Linked DNA regions of Homo sapiens: all the other regions are linked to region 1. Evidence: promoter capture Hi-C in human tissues and cell types (Jung and others, 2019). All regions are on one chromosome and are shown on one strand. The core of a region is centred on a gene start or on the middle of the fragment in contact, and the rest is flanking DNA. Distances in the headings are between cores, read along the strand shown.

Evidence for each region. Contacts are between HindIII fragments. The study calls those that stand out against the background at their distance.
Region 2: a contact is called between a fragment that was not itself captured here and the fragment with the promoter of SALL4 in region 1, in 1 of the 25 tissues and cell types used here (spleen).
Region 3: a contact is called between a fragment that was not itself captured here and the fragment with the promoter of SALL4 in region 1, in 2 of the 25 tissues and cell types used here (mesendoderm cells and spleen).
Region 4: a fragment that was not itself captured here is called in contact with the fragment with the promoter of SALL4 in region 1 in 2 of the 25 tissues and cell types used here (H1 embryonic stem cells and spleen).

Annotation. Positions count from the first base shown.
Region 1 is chr20:51,800,814-51,804,530 of GRCh38, reverse strand. It overlaps SALL4 (spalt like transcription factor 4), which reads left to right and starts at 2,010. Exons shown (of 4, transcript NM_020436.5): 1 at 2,010-2,252. The coding sequence starts at 2,123. RefSeq lists enhancers at 1,664-2,305, 2,949-3,591. The HindIII fragment of the contact is 8,319 bases long and covers 1-3,717 here.
Region 2 is chr20:51,387,775-51,391,491 of GRCh38, reverse strand. It overlaps NFATC2 (nuclear factor of activated T cells 2), which reads left to right. Exons shown (of 11, transcript NM_012340.5): 11 at 41-3,717. All of the region lies in intron 2 of LOC105372663 (a long non-coding RNA gene), which reads right to left. Among named protein-coding and RNA genes, the nearest start is that of MIR3194, 63 kb to the left of the region's middle. The HindIII fragment of the contact is 4,969 bases long and covers 1-3,717 here.
Region 3 is chr20:52,100,652-52,104,368 of GRCh38, reverse strand. It overlaps a transcript of ZFP64 not described here. Among named protein-coding and RNA genes, the nearest start is that of ZFP64, 89 kb to the left of the region's middle. The HindIII fragment of the contact is 5,658 bases long and covers 1-3,717 here.
Region 4 is chr20:52,058,383-52,062,099 of GRCh38, reverse strand. No RefSeq gene overlaps it. Among named protein-coding and RNA genes, the nearest start is that of ZFP64, 130 kb to the left of the region's middle. The HindIII fragment of the contact is 3,148 bases long and covers 480-3,627 here.

The DNA of each region.
Region 1 (3,717 bases), core at 761-3,260:
TCAGTTTCAAAATGGAGAGGACAATAGGGCCAACCTCCATGGGAAGATAAAACAAGGCGGTGTGCATTCATTTAATGCAGTCTGTGGCATGTACAAGGGGCTCAATCAATTATTATTATTACTATCACTTGGAGAGTCAAGCGGCACAATTTTGTCTCGTAGTAAGGCTAACATGTTACAACTATCATCTACTAAAATAAATATAAACAACTATATAAATGAAATTTTCCTTAACCCAATAGTATTTTTTGAGCCATAAACCCACTGCACATTCGTTTAGATTTGTAAGTTAGATCTCCTGCCACACTATCTTACACAGAAAAGGTGTTGAGAATATTAGTAGATTAGTCAGCAAGGCAGGTGCTAATTGGCCTTTTTACTCAGTATCAGAATTCTAAACTGCTTCTATGTATTATTAAACCAAATTCTTACCTTTTCAATCTGGCTGTTGGCTATAATTCTGTCTTACTTGCTTTAAATATTATACATAAAATAAGGCAAGACTTTTTCAGAGACTCAAAAATTGAAGGTTAATCTTCCTTCAACAAGTTTTTACTGATGGCCACGAATATAAAAAAGATGATCAAGCTGATTTATTTTCTGCCTTGGGTTGTCCAAATACCCAGGTGAACACATTGATGAGCCCAGCATTCCATTTTGCTTGTATTCCTGATGAGTTTACAAGCTGGGAACGTGATGAATAACTAATCAAGAGAATGCAATGCACAAATGTGGAGGGAGGGTTTATATCTGCACAGTCCCTTACAATGAAGTAAATGCCAAACAAAGACGCATGCCCAGAGCAGTTATGGAAAGACCAATCAAAGACTTAGCAGGTTGATGATTTCATCATTCATTTAACATTTATTGAGCATGTACATTGTGTAAAGCAGTTAGCCAAATTAAGTATACATGAATTTACGGTATAAATGTGTATACATGTAATATATCATATACACACACACAAGCCCCACTTTAAAAAATTCCAGGCATCATGTGTCAATGATACAATCACTTTGAACGATACACCTTTTCTGTAATAATGTGTGTATTGCACAAAAAAATTCCAATAGTGATTAGTAACAACCAGATACTGTGACAGTGCCCCATTGCCATTCCATGGGAGATGCAAGAGCATTGTCTCAGTAATAAAATATGATGTTATCAGGCATTTATGGCTCCTGGGGAAAAAAATGCAATTGCTTGCTGTTTTGATATTATCTCTGACTATGCTTGCTTATCATTTGCCATTTCTATATTTAGTAGCCAGTCATTTTGAAGTTAAAAAAAAATCAAGGTTTGCATTGTAACCACAAACCAGTCTTTGTGAACAGGAATCCTGGAGGCTATTAATCAGCTTTTAAAGGAGGTAAGTCATGGTGGTGGTGGGGTATCTGAAATTTTGGAAGTTCCGAGCTCACTTTAAGAGTTGAGATGGGTGGGAGGGCTGAAAACACCACCATTCATCATTCTTCAGTTATCTCGAGACTCAACTTAAACATTTTTAATCAAAAAGATGGGAGGGGACACGGGTCACATCTCAGGTTTGGGGGAATGTGTGTGCGTGTAGATGTGAAAACTGAGCCAAAATATTCCACTGTGAAGAGATCTCCCTTCTCGGCTGGTGGACATCAACCTTACCAAGTAATCTTTGGAGCAAGTAACTACCAAATAAAGCCGTTCCAAAACTTCTACGTAAGCTCCTACTTTTTAATGAGTACGCATTTCTCCCCATTTTCTTTTCCTCTCCAAGGACTGAGATAGCTGGAGCAAGGATGGGTCCCCCTCTGATTTCGTCCCCGCCCCAGCCAATCTGAGCCCGGATGCTAATTAGCTGCGCTCCCCTGATGAACACGCCTTTGTCACAAGTAGGCCCGGACTACAAAGCCCAGAATGCCTCACCCCTCCCTGATCAATGAGGGCTTATTTAAATGATCTCTGAGGTCTTGGACCCAGGCCAATCAGCTGTCAGGGCTCATGATAAATCGCAATGCATTATTGATAATAATAATTACTGGGACATGCGCGTTCCGGCCGAAGGGGGGTAAATTTCCCAACTCCAGGAATTTGTGGCGGAGAGGGCAAATAACTGCGGCTCTCCCGGCGCCCCGATGCTCGCACCATGTCGAGGCGCAAGCAGGCGAAACCCCAGCACATCAACTCGGAGGAGGACCAGGGCGAGCAGCAGCCGCAGCAGCAGACCCCGGAGTTTGCAGATGCGGCCCCAGCGGCGCCCGCGGCGGGGGAGCTGGGTGAGTGGGGCTGGGGCGCCCGCCCGGGGAGGGGAGCTTCCCGGACGTACGCGGGATCCTCGAGGGCGCAGGCTTCGGGGAGCGGGCGGCGTCCAGCGCAAATTCAGGAGCCGAGATTTGGGGGCTCAGTGCCCGGGAGGAGAGGTCTCCTCCTCTCCCCACCACCCCGCCTTTTGCACATTTCACACTTTTTTCCTCTTCTCCCCTCTTGTGTAAGTTTCACCCCCAGCTTTCTCCCCTAATTGTAAAATTGACCCCCACTCGCTCCTCTGTTCTCGCTCCCGAAAGGTTCCCTTCTCCTTGTCCTCTGCCCCTCACTTAATTGGTTCCACTCCCCTCACTGGTGTTACCCCCCCCCCTTGTAACTTAGGTCCCCCTCCCTCGCGTCGCTCTCAAAAGAAAGAACCCCGGGGGATCCCCACCCTCTCCACCAGCCCCTTGGGGCTTTTCTTGGAGGCTGGAGGAGGGGCGCACCCCTGGAAGACCCCCCGGAGGAGGACGATCTGTTGCACGCGCCCCTCCCGGGCCAAGTGGGGGGAGGGGGCGCGACCTCTCCCCACCCTCAGGAGCTGGGGTGCGGGCCACCCGCGCTGCGCAGGGGATTGGAGGGCCCAGAGAGGTGGGGGAGGAGGGCTCAATGTTTCCCTTTAAAATTTTTTTCTTTTCTGGATTTCGCCTTTTCTGCCCGGGCTGCGCCGCCTGCCGATCTTCGCCCTAACCTTTCGGGGCCTGACCTCCAGCCATCTTTGATTTCCGACTTCCTAAAAATAACCGCGGCAAGCCCGAGGGTGCGAGCCCCCAGTGGCCGGGGTGGCGGGCGCGCGGCAGCCCCACTGGGGTGCACCGGCCTCCCGTTTTGCGTGGCTTTTCTGGAGCGCTCGGCTTTCCACATTTGCGCTTGGGTGTGAAAGGGGAGAGGTGGGGGGCCAGAGCGAACTCCCGCGGCTGACCTGGCCCACGCTTCCGCGGCCAGCGTTTCCCAGATCGAGGGGAGTTCGGGACCCCAGCCGCGCCAGGAACGGCGGGGCCAACTCTGTTCCCACTTCATCACTTCACCGCGGAGGTTTTAGGAGCGAGGCGGTTTTCCACTATCTCGTCTCCATCCCGGCCCGCCAAATTGTCGCCTGATAAGTTTTTAGCGTGCGCGTGGGGGGAGGGGGGATTTGTAGCCTCCTCTCCGGCCTTGTTCGTCGCTCCGCTCCCCGCCTGCTTTCTAATTTCCCTGCAGCAGACGGGTGTGCGCGGCAACCCCGGAGGACTCTCAGAGACCATCTCTGATACCCGGGGTTTCCCGAGAAGACGGTCGCCACTTTTTGGCTTCCGTATCCCCGCCTTTTTGTCGGAGACTGAATGTAATACATTTCCCAAGTTTATAATACGTCAATAGAATTCCCCGTTTAACATTTTTCCAGGGCAAATTAAAAGGATCGGCTTGACGGAGGGGATGGCTGGGCGTTTTCGGGGC
Region 2 (3,717 bases), core at 462-2,961, 410 kb after region 1:
CCCCATTCTCTCTCCCCCCCCCTCCTCTTTTCTTTTGTAGTTAATGAAATTATCAGGAAGGAGTTTTCAGGACCTCCTGCCAGAAATCAGACGTAAAAGAAGCCATTATAGCAAGACACCTTCTGTATCTGACCCCTCGGAGCCCTCCACAGCCCCTCACCTTCTGTCTCCTTTCATGTTCATCTCCCAGCCCGGAGTCCACACGCGGATCAATGTATGGGCACTAAGCGGACTCTCACTTAAGGAGCTCGCCACCTCCCTCTAAACACCAGAGAGAACTCTTCTTTTCGGTTTATGTTTTAAATCCCAGAGAGCATCCTGGTTGATCTTAATGGTGTTCCGTCCAAATAGTAAGCACCTGCTGACCAAAAGCACATTCTACATGAGACAGGACACTGGAACTCTCCTGAGAACAGAGTGACTGGAGCTTGGGGGGATGGACGGGGGACAGAAGATGTGGGCACTGTGATTAAACCCCAGCCCTTGCGTTCGTTTTTCCAGGTCACAGATACAGCTCCTGTACCTTTTGAAGGCAAGGAGTTCTCAGAGCAACCAAAGGAACGTGACCCAAGAGCCCAGCTTACAGGCTGAAGAAACCCAAAACCCTCGATAGAGACAGAAACTGAACTGTCAGTCCTTAGAGCTCGCCCAGTCCATGCCACAACTGGGCCACAGCTAAAGCTTTATTTTTGAATTCTCATTCCAAAACCAAACTGTCTTGCCCAGACAAGATCACCTGTTAAGACTTCTTGGCGTTAAGTTATGACATGTATACGCGTTTGTTATTATTATTTTTTCTGCTTTAAAAGGCTGACCAGGGCACCTAGCCCTGGAGCTGTCTTGGCGAGCTGTTCTTTAACCCCTGCAGCACGCAGTCCTGCTAACACAATTTCCATAGACTTGGGGGGCTGACCCAGGCTGCAGAGAGCAAGCACCTGTCTGCTGCAGCTGTACAACCTGGATGCTTTGCAAGGTTCCGGCTTGCTTTCTTCCTAGCAGCCAGAGTGCTTTTCCGTAAAGCGGTGGAGAATCTCAAGCATGTGCATTTAATTGAGGAATAGCAGAAGGGCTAAAGCAACCAAGAAAAGAAGTGTGGGTATTTTTGTTAAGTAAAACAGCCCAAGTGCTTCTGGAGGTGGGTTTCTACCAAGATAGAGGAAAAGGGCTGAATTCCCTCTAAGTGGGACAGCCGAGCTCAGGATGTGCTTCCCAGCTTCACTGGTTAATTTGACCTGAACCTATTTAAAGATCCCTTCTGCCCCTGAAGACCTATCCGCACTCAAATTCTAACATGAAGAAATCTACTCGAATGCATCCTTTACTTTGAATGAGCTCTATTCGGTTGCATGTTATATGTGATTTCCTTCCTCCCAACTGTTTCCACTGAGCGCACCCAGTCTCCCCTAGTCTTCCTCTGTGGGTGTGATTTTTGTGATTTTTACAAACAAAACCCTTGAAGTTCTTGGCAGATGTGTTTGTTTCTGTTTGCATGTACTGCAGATACCCCAGGACAAGCGGGGGATTCATTTTTCAGCCATTCAGTTGTTTCCTCAATAATCCGCAGCAAAGTGAAAATATTCTTAGCACTCAGACTGTACTTAGAGTGTTTTCTCAGTCCAGTCTGTACAGTCTGTAGGCAGAAGGCCTCAGAAGAAAGTCATGGCCACTCAGTGCCCACTGTGGGCTTTGTAAGTCCTGGCTCTCCCGTCAAGGTTACCCAGAGGTAAAAGCTTCCTGGGAGTGGGGCCAGGTGTGTTTGGCACTCCAGATAGAAGGCAAAATGCTCAGATTCGGGCCTGTGCACTTGTATGCAACCTGTCGGTCGATACCTAGCATTTATTTTTCCCTGACAATGAACGACCTTTCCCTCACCCACCCTAAGCTCAAAGAGTTTAGCAAAATTCTCTTTTAAATAAACAGAATGCCAGTAAGAGGTTGACCCCTACCATGGAACTTCTGGGATGCTAAATACTTCCTCATGAACAAAATAAGTTCCTTATTATAAGTTCCTTATACTAGCAGCTTCACCTAAAGAATTTTCTCTCCAGCAATATTGACTTCACTGGGGAAAAGCCAAGAGTGTGTGGTGAGTGATTTGTTCTCACTCGACCTGGCTAGGACTGGCTAGGAGCTGTTTTTTGTACATGAGGGAATTTGGGCTTTCCTCAGTTATCTGAATGTTTTACCCAAGTGCCTTCCTGCTATTGTAGCAAAGTAGCTCAGCTTCCTTGTCCACAGGGTGAAAAAGGACTAATGCATTTTCCATCAGTTTTCTAACTATGTTAGCAAAAACGGCCTCCTGGTAGCTCAACCTCCTGTACGCGTGTGTGTGTGTAATACACACACAAATAAACCCCTCTGTTTTTCTAAGACATCTTAGCTGGATATTATAGGAAGCACTTTCATAAACAACTGTAACAAATCGCAAAGGAAAGAGAAACAAAAGCATTAGATTTGAGACATAAACAGGCAAGAGAAAGTGTATTAGGAACTGACAGCTATCAAGGAAGTTTTGTCAGTTACAAATGCTAGGAGGAAATTTTGCCAAGAAGGATGGCTCATGAAATATTTCCAGTACGGGAAGAGGCAATAAGATCCTCTAAGAGAATGAGAAAGTAGGGGTGTCTAAATGGTAAAGATGGGTGTGTTGCACGTGTGTTAGAAGGATCTCAGTTGAGTGAAGGTTTGCACTGCTACATCTAAGTTAATGTAAATATGTAGCACTCTGACAGGTCTACCGTGTTGCTGAATGTAGTATATTTCCAAAGTTTGCAAGTCTTCCTGTATTGTACAAAGATGCTGCTGCTTGATAATATGTATAGCAATCCAGATTAGTATGTTATTAAATTTTATTTTCTTACCTGTATTTTTATGCTTTTTACCTGTCCTCAAAATATTACACCCCTGTTGGAATTAGATTTATATTTATAAATGGTCAGAAATCTTTTTAAGTGTCTCTTTTTACACATAGGTTGATTTTTTTTTCTTAAGAGAAATGATGTATTCTTGAAACATTTGTTACTCATTCCAGGAAACAAAAACCCATATAATAAAACCCCCACTCAGAGCCTGTTAGTCACCTCTCTAGAAGATGGCATCTCAGGAGAAGGAATGGCTTTGTGGAAGAAGGAATCACCTTTTTCTTGCTCAAGAATTATGCTGACTTCAGCCCTGAGCCTGGATCTGGTCACTGAGAATCATCAAGTGTCTAGATCCTCCCCCCAAAATAACTAATTTAGTAGGTGATTTTGATTTTAAAAAATTGACACCAAAACCCTGCCTGCATTGTAATGGAATTCGAAAAGAATTCATGTTCACAGAACTCAACGTTCAGGCTAATATTTACAGAAGGGACCAAATCTAAATCCTGGTAGATAACTCCTGTATGCTTTATCCAAAGGACACCCACAGTTTTCCAGCATAGATATAACCAAGGATGAATTGATTCCTTCAAAGAACTGGGAGGCACGGATATTGCATTTTTTGTTTACATCCAGTAGCCAAGACGCCTCAGTGAGCCAGTCTTGGGCAGAGGCTGTCACATTTAGGCAGATTGGAAGTTGGTATGTTCTAATTCTCACTCTGGACTACAGTGAGGCTGAATTTATCATGTCAAAAAAAAAAAAAAAAAAAGACCTTTCCAAGTGCTTTCTATTGCTCAGAATTGAAAGAATGTTTTCATTTCAAGTTTACAAGAGGCATGGATGGAGTTGTGAC
Region 3 (3,717 bases), core at 842-3,341, 300 kb before region 1:
GCTACCTTAAGCCCCCCGGGCAGCATTTCTCGTCCCGGGATCCTCCGCTTCAGAAGAGCCTGCGGGAGGGGACCTTTTCTCGCTCGCCAAATTCTTCCTGCAAGTTAGGGATCCCCCCATCCCCCGCCTCCACTGGAATCTCAGGGGTGGGGTTGGGGAATCTGCATTTCTAAGGCGCTTCCCTTTTTGCTTATCTTGTGCTTAGATTAAGAGATTGTAGGTTCCTACTTTCTCTTAGGCTGCCAGCTCCCCGTGGTTAGCTGATACCTTTCCTTTAAGGGGCTGAGGAAAGGAGTTGTAACTGGACTTCCTCTTCTCCCCCGCTCTTTCCGGGCGCGGAAAGGAGGATGGGTCCCCTCTCCGGGGCGGCTCACCCCTCCAGAGCCGCGGGCTCTCCAGCTTCCGCATCAACTTCCACCACAGTCGGTCTGGTGGGTTTTGACCACAACTTCCCGAGGTGGTGGTGGAGGGGAGTAGTTTAATGAAGCCTCCACTAAACGAATAGCTTATATGTTAAAATAAAGCTTGCTCGAGTGGAGCTACCATAACCAGGATAGTACAACCACCCTCGTGCCCGAGGCCTGGGATGGAGATAGGCAGGTGAGACTTACAGGATCCCGTCCCCTGGGTCGAGGGGCGGGGCTCTTGCTGATCTCTGCGCCTCGGGGAAGTTGGGGAGGTACTGGGGATGCTGAGTCTTTTGGGGGAGGTGTTTATAGAAGAGAATTGCTGAGTAACCCCAGGCTGGAGTTGAAAGTCTGTGCACTGAGCTACTTTGGATTCCTGCAGCCAGCGCTGCGAGGCGCCTTCTGGAGCCGCACCCAGTGTTTCGGGCATGGGGAGGGTGTCGTGCGTCCTGGAGTACTGAGGTGACTTCTGTGGGAGCAGGACGCAAACTCTGCCGGCCCAGTAGTGTGCCTCAACCCCAGCCACCACTTCGGAGAAAAAACCGTCTTCCAACTGACGTTTTATCCTAGTACCTTTGGTCTGCGACACTGGCAAGGGGGTACATTTTTTACGAAGGTTGGGCCACTCTTAATTTGCAAGTGTCTTTGCAACTCAAGTAGCTTTTGGAGGAAAATAAAATGGAAAGTAATTAGTGGACTTCCTGTCACCACCAGTAAAATGACGAAGGGGCTGGAGGAACCTTACTGAGGGAACATCATCCGTTTCCCCAGGAGTTAAAACCCTCGCCATGCTAACCTGGTTTCTAATAGTCAAATGCGGCCCACCCCCACTTCCAGAGGCAGAGGGTCTCCCCCAGCTGCACCTTTCCCAGGAGAGTGGGCTTCAGGCCTTCTTTGGTTTCCTGGGTGTCTAAACGTAAAAGAAATCGGAGGCCCCTCACACCTCCCCATCAGAGGCTCTATCTGGGTCATCCTTTAACCCACCTCTCTCTCACTTTTCTAGTTTGCGTTGAAAACATGCATCTTTCTCCCCCTGAGAATCTGGTAGAATCTTACGTGTGTATATCAGTGAATAACACTAATAGCATTTATACAGTATTGACTAATACATGAGGTTCTCTTACATATACTAAAGAACTTCATCTAAGCTAATGAGACGGCCATAATACCCATTTCACAGATGTGGAAACTGAGGAACGGGGAAGTTGAGTAGCTTATCCAGTGGGACACAGCTAATGGTAAAACTGGAATTGAAACTTATCAGCTGGTTTCCCAGTCTGTTCCCCAAACCACTGTGTTATACAGTGCCTCACTTAGATTTGTTTTCAGTCTTGCTTGACTTCTGTGGAATTAAAACCCTCAAGAGTTTAATGGTTTTCTCTTCTAGTATGTGAGTTGCTATGTAATGAGGCTTTGTTTGTGTCTGTCCCTGAGGGACATAGGATGGGTTGCAGATCTGGCAAGTGTGGGTTCCAATGAGCTGAAAACTTCCAGTCCTGCAACCTTGAGCATCTGAGCCAGTTTCTTGCTCACAGAGCAAGAGACTCAAAAGTATGGTTCCCAGACCAGCATCGGCATCAACTGGGAACTTGTTAGAAGTGAAAAATCGCAGGCTCCACCCCATACCTACTCAATCAGGAACTCCAAATGGGAGCCCCTGCCACCTGTGTTTTAAGTAGCCTTCTAGGCAATTCTGATACACGCTGACGTCTGAGAACCACTGGCTGTGAGCTGTGCTTCTCAAATTGTAATGTGCTGTGCTCAGGAATCACCTGGGGATCTGGCTAAAGTACAGATTGGTTCTGTAAGTCTGGAGTAGGGCCTGAGACTGCTGCCTTTTTTTTTTTTTTTTTTGGAGATGGAGTTACTCTCACCAGGCTGGAGTGCAGTGGCACGATCTGGGCTCACTGCAACCTCTGCCCCACAGGTTCAAGCGATTCTCCTGCCTCAGTCTCCTGAGTAGCTGGGATTACAGGCACATGCCACCACACCTGGCTAATTTTTTTTTTTTTTTTTTTTTTGGTATTTTTAGTAGAGACAGGTTTCACTGTGTTAGCCAGGATGGGACGCCTGCCTCAGCCTCCCAAAATGCTAGGATTACAGGCATGAGCCACGGCACCCGGCTGAGACTCTGCATTTTTAACAAGCTCTCAGGTGATGCTGGTGCTCTAGGGACCACCCTTTGAGTAGCAAGGACTTACAAGTAATACAGCAGAATCATCTGGCAAGTGCTTCAAAAATGCAAGGCCCTGAGGTCAGGTGTGGTGGCTCATGCCTGTAATCCCAGCACTTTTGAGTGGTTAAGGTGGGCAGATTGCTCGAGCTCAGGAGTTTGAGACCAGCATGGGCAACATGGCAAAACCCTGTCTCTATAAAAACAAAACTACAAAAAATACAAAACTACAAAAAAATACAAAAATACAAAAACTAGGCATGTGGTGGTGCATGCCTGTGGTCCCAGCTATTCGGGAGGCTGAGGTAGGAGGATGGCTTGAGCCTGGAAGGCGGAGTTTGCAGTGAGCCATGTTGGTGCCACTGCACTCCAGCCTGGGTGACAGCGAGACCTTGTCTCAAAAAAAAATCGCAAGTCCCTGGAATCGCAAGTCCTTACTTGATCCACACTACCACCCCTCCTCCTGCCCCTAAGTTTTCAGTGAGTATAGGGTAAGGCCTGGGAAACTACACTGAACCCATGATCTAGGTGATTGTGACACAGATAGTATCAGGATTACACTTGGAAGAAACATTGGGAGTAGGACTACTGCAGACTTTCTCAACCCCAGCCCTATTGACCTTTGGGGCTGCATCGTTTCCTTGTGGGGGCTGTCCTATGCCCTATAGGATGTCTAGCAGCATCCCTGGCCTTCACCCACTAGATGCCATTCTCAAACATGCATGCAAACAGAATCATGACAATTGAAAATGTTCCCAGGCATTGCTGAGTGTCCTTTGGTGGTAGAATGGCCCCCAGTTGAGAGCCACTGGACTAGATCACTTGTTAAGGGGCTTCGAGCACAACTGCTAGGATGTGAAATCTGTAGTCCTCACTTGCGACATCTGAAGCCACGCAATTGTATTTACTCAGATGACACTGTACTGAGAACTTATATATTTTTTCATCTTGTTTAACTCTGCAACTCTGAGGCATGTAATCTCCTTTTGCAAACGAGTAAACTGAAGCTCAGAAAGGTTAAGTAGCTTGCCAATAGTTGCACAGCACATAGCTGAGCAAACCCTCTGCCTAAAACTGAAGCCCTCACCACTGTGCTCTACAGCCTCTCATGCTAAGATTCCTTCACCCGCACAAACT
Region 4 (3,717 bases), core at 804-3,303, 260 kb before region 1:
TCACATCTCCAGGATTTAGAAAAGTGCCTAGCACCCAGAGGTGCTCAAATATGTGTTAAATGAGTGTAACAGGCCAGGCGCAGTGGCTCACGCCTGTAATCCCAGAACTTTGGGAGTCCGAGGCAGGTGGATCACCTCAGGTCAGCAGTTTGAGACCAGCCTGGCCAACATGGTGAAACCCTGTCTCTACTAAAAATACAAAAATTAGCTGGGAGTGGTGGCAGGTGCCTGTAATTCCAGCTACCTGGGAGACTGCAGCATGACAGTCAGTTGAACCCAGGAGGCAGATGTTGCGTTGAGCCAAAATCGTGCCACTGCACTCCAGCCTGGGTAACAGAGCAAGACTCTGTCTCAAAACAAAAACAAAAACAAAAATCACGCTTTAAAAAAAGTTAAAAATTAAATAAATAAATAAATAAATAAATGAGTGTAACACTTAGCACAATTGGTTAGCAGTTCACTTGCCTATTTCCTGTACTATTGATAGGATAGGGGTCAGGACTCTTTCATTTACTGCCTATACCTAGCTCCTAAATCTGTCTGAAATGCAGGAGGTATCAGTAAATGTTTGTTGAATGTATAAGTGAATGAAACTCGCATATTTTTTAAAAACTCCATTATGGATAGTAGGTAGCAGATGGTTGTGGGAATGGGGTGAAATTACACAGCAAAATGTTCTTTTTATTAAGGGTCTAGATTTCTCCTGTTTCCAGGTGGCAACCCCTCTAAGGAGGGGGATCTGGATTTGGAAGTTCCCGTCTGAGTTTAGGGCCAGCGCTCCCTGTCAGTTCTTTGCCTCACCTTAAGATGTCACTAAATGACTTGGGCCATGGCTTCCACTGGCTGTCAGGGAAAAGCTGGGAGGTCAGGACAGGAAGGGAGGAAATGACCCGGTGTTATGAACAAATCTCCCACTTCCTCCAGCGCCTGGCAGACAAGGTGACAAGGCGCTGATGTCCCCCACCCAGCTTTACAAGCTGTTCATTAGCACACCTGATATTCCAGAGCCATGGAACTTTCTGTTTCCTTCTACAACCAGAACCTTGACAAATCAGACCAAGCTGGATAAATCATATCACATCATGATTGACTTCCTGTTGTGGGTCCAGCACTGTCTCTAGGGCTCTAGGATAGACTCAACAGAAACGTTCCGTAATATTTCTGCTCTCCAGAAGTAGTTGGGGGGCTAAGACATACAGGAAAGAAAAAATTTAAAATAGTACAAGATTCTACAGGCAACGTGGTATTCTGGATTGGGTCCCGGAGAAGAAAAATGGACATTCGTGAAAAAATTGGCAAAGTACAAATAAAACCTCTAGTTTAGTTGATAGTGTTGTATCAATGTTAATTTCTTAGTTTCGATGAATATATCATGGTTACCTAAGATGCTAACATCAGGAGAAGCTGGGTGAAGCATATGCAGGAACTCTCTGTACTATCTTTGCAATATTTCCATAAATTTAAAGTAATCCAAAATTGGCTAGGCACAGTGGCTCATGCCTGTAATCCCAGCACTTTGGGAGGCCGAGGCAGGAGGATCACTTGAAGTCAGGAGTTCGAAACCAGCCTGGCCAACATGGTGAAACCCCGTCTCTACTAAAAATACAAAAATTAGCCAGGCGTGATGGTGCACACCTGTATTCCCAGCTACTCGGGAGGCTGAATCACTTGAACACTGGAGGCAGAGGTTGCAGTGAGCCAAGATCGCGCCACCGCACTGCAGCCTGGGAGACAGAGGGAGACTCCGTCTCAAAATAATAAATAAATAAATAATAAATAAATGTCCAAAATTAAAAGCTTTAAAAGTATTCAAGACAGTGTTGGCTTGGATGGTCTGCATGTATATTGTAGTAGTCCAGAGATACTGGATGAATCCCTGGACTCAGACCTGAAACTGAGTCCCTCTCCCCGCCAGCTACCAGCTGTGTGACTTAGGGCAAGTGACTTAACCTTGCAGAACCTCAGTTTTCTTTTTCTTTATTTTCTGTCTTATTTTTAATTTTTAATTTTTTTCTTTTTTAGAGGCAGGATCTTGCTCTGCTGCATAGACTGGAGTGCAGTGATGCAATCACCACTCACTGCAACCTCACTCCTGGTCTCAAGCAATCCTCCTGCCTCAGCCTCCTGAGTAGCTAGGACTACAGGTGCATGTCACCACACCCAACTAAATTTTTATATTTTGTAGAGATGGGGTCTCACTATGTTGCCCAGGCTGGTCTCAAACTCCTGGCCTCAAGTGATTCTCCTACCTCGCCCTCCCAGAGTGTTACAGGCATCAGTCACTGTGCCCAGCCCCTCAGTTTTCTTAGTTTTAAAAAACACCAAGCTCATGAAGTTACTGTGAAGTCTCCAGGAGATAATATATAAATGCTCCTGGTCCAGTGCCTGCACAGGGTAAATTCTCAATACCTGCTGGTTTTTTCCTTCTCTGTCATTTCAGGAAAAGTAGCAATCAGTTGGGCTTCAGGATTCAGAAAAGAAATAACAAGATGAGATTTGTAGTCAGTCATTGGAGTTGGCTAAGGTTGAAGTTAGAGAAGTGGAAGCTGGACAAGAATCCCGCACAAAGGTGACCCAAGAGGATCACTCTGTCAGTTTCAATTTTAGGAAACATACTTCTTAAGCTATTGGAAGGAGGCATTTTTATATTATAACTAGTCTTGAAAAATTGTGGATTTTTTTCTAAGATAATCTCAGAGATGAGCAAAATAATATTTGTGAAGGTTATTCATGATAGCACTGATTGTAAAGGCAAAAGATTGAAAACCACTTAAATGTTTCTAAATAGGGAGGAGCCTGGCTAAATTCACTCCATGGAATTCATTGAAAACATTAAAAGCTGTATATTAAAAAATATAAAGCAGCTGGGTGTGGTTGCTCATGCCTGTAATCCCAGCATTTTGGGAGGGTGAGGTTGGAAGATCGCTAGAGCTCAGGAGTTTGAGACCAGCCTGGACAACATAGCAAGACCTTGTCATTACAAAAAATTTAAAAACTAGCTGGGCATGATGATGCATATCTATAGTCCTGGCTACTTGGGAGGCCAAGATGAGAATATTGCTTGAGCCCAGAAGATTGAGGCCACAGTGAGCCATGATTGTGCCACTGCACTCCAGCCTGGATGACAGAGAAAGACCCTGGCTCTAAAAAAAAAAATACACACACACACACACTTATATATATAAACAAGTCTATGTATATATACACACACACATAAACACAGACTTGCTTTATAGATATATGACATGGCCATAGCTAAAGCTATATAGACAGAAAAAAAATGCAGAATGGAACACACAGTATGTTACCATTTGCAGATCAAAAAAGTATGAATGAGTGTTTATTCATATGTTCATCAATATCTCTGGAAAGATACACAAGAACCTGATGACAGTATTTCCTACTTGGTTGACACCAAAACCAGAGACCATTCAAGTCACATCCATCTTGTTAAACATCTTGTTAAAATGTTATTGCCGGTAAAATGTTACATTTCTTTTGTTTAGAAATTGTTAACCAGAATTTGTGACATACTTATTTTTTAAACATGTGTTTAAACTTTTTATTATGGGAAATGTCAAACATAAACAATGGAGTGAGAACCATAATGATCCTCCCTGCCCCAGGAACCAGCTTCAGTTATCAACGTTCCATCATTCAGATTGTGTGGGACATTCACATTGTTTTCATTAATTACATAAAAATAATAATTGTAAG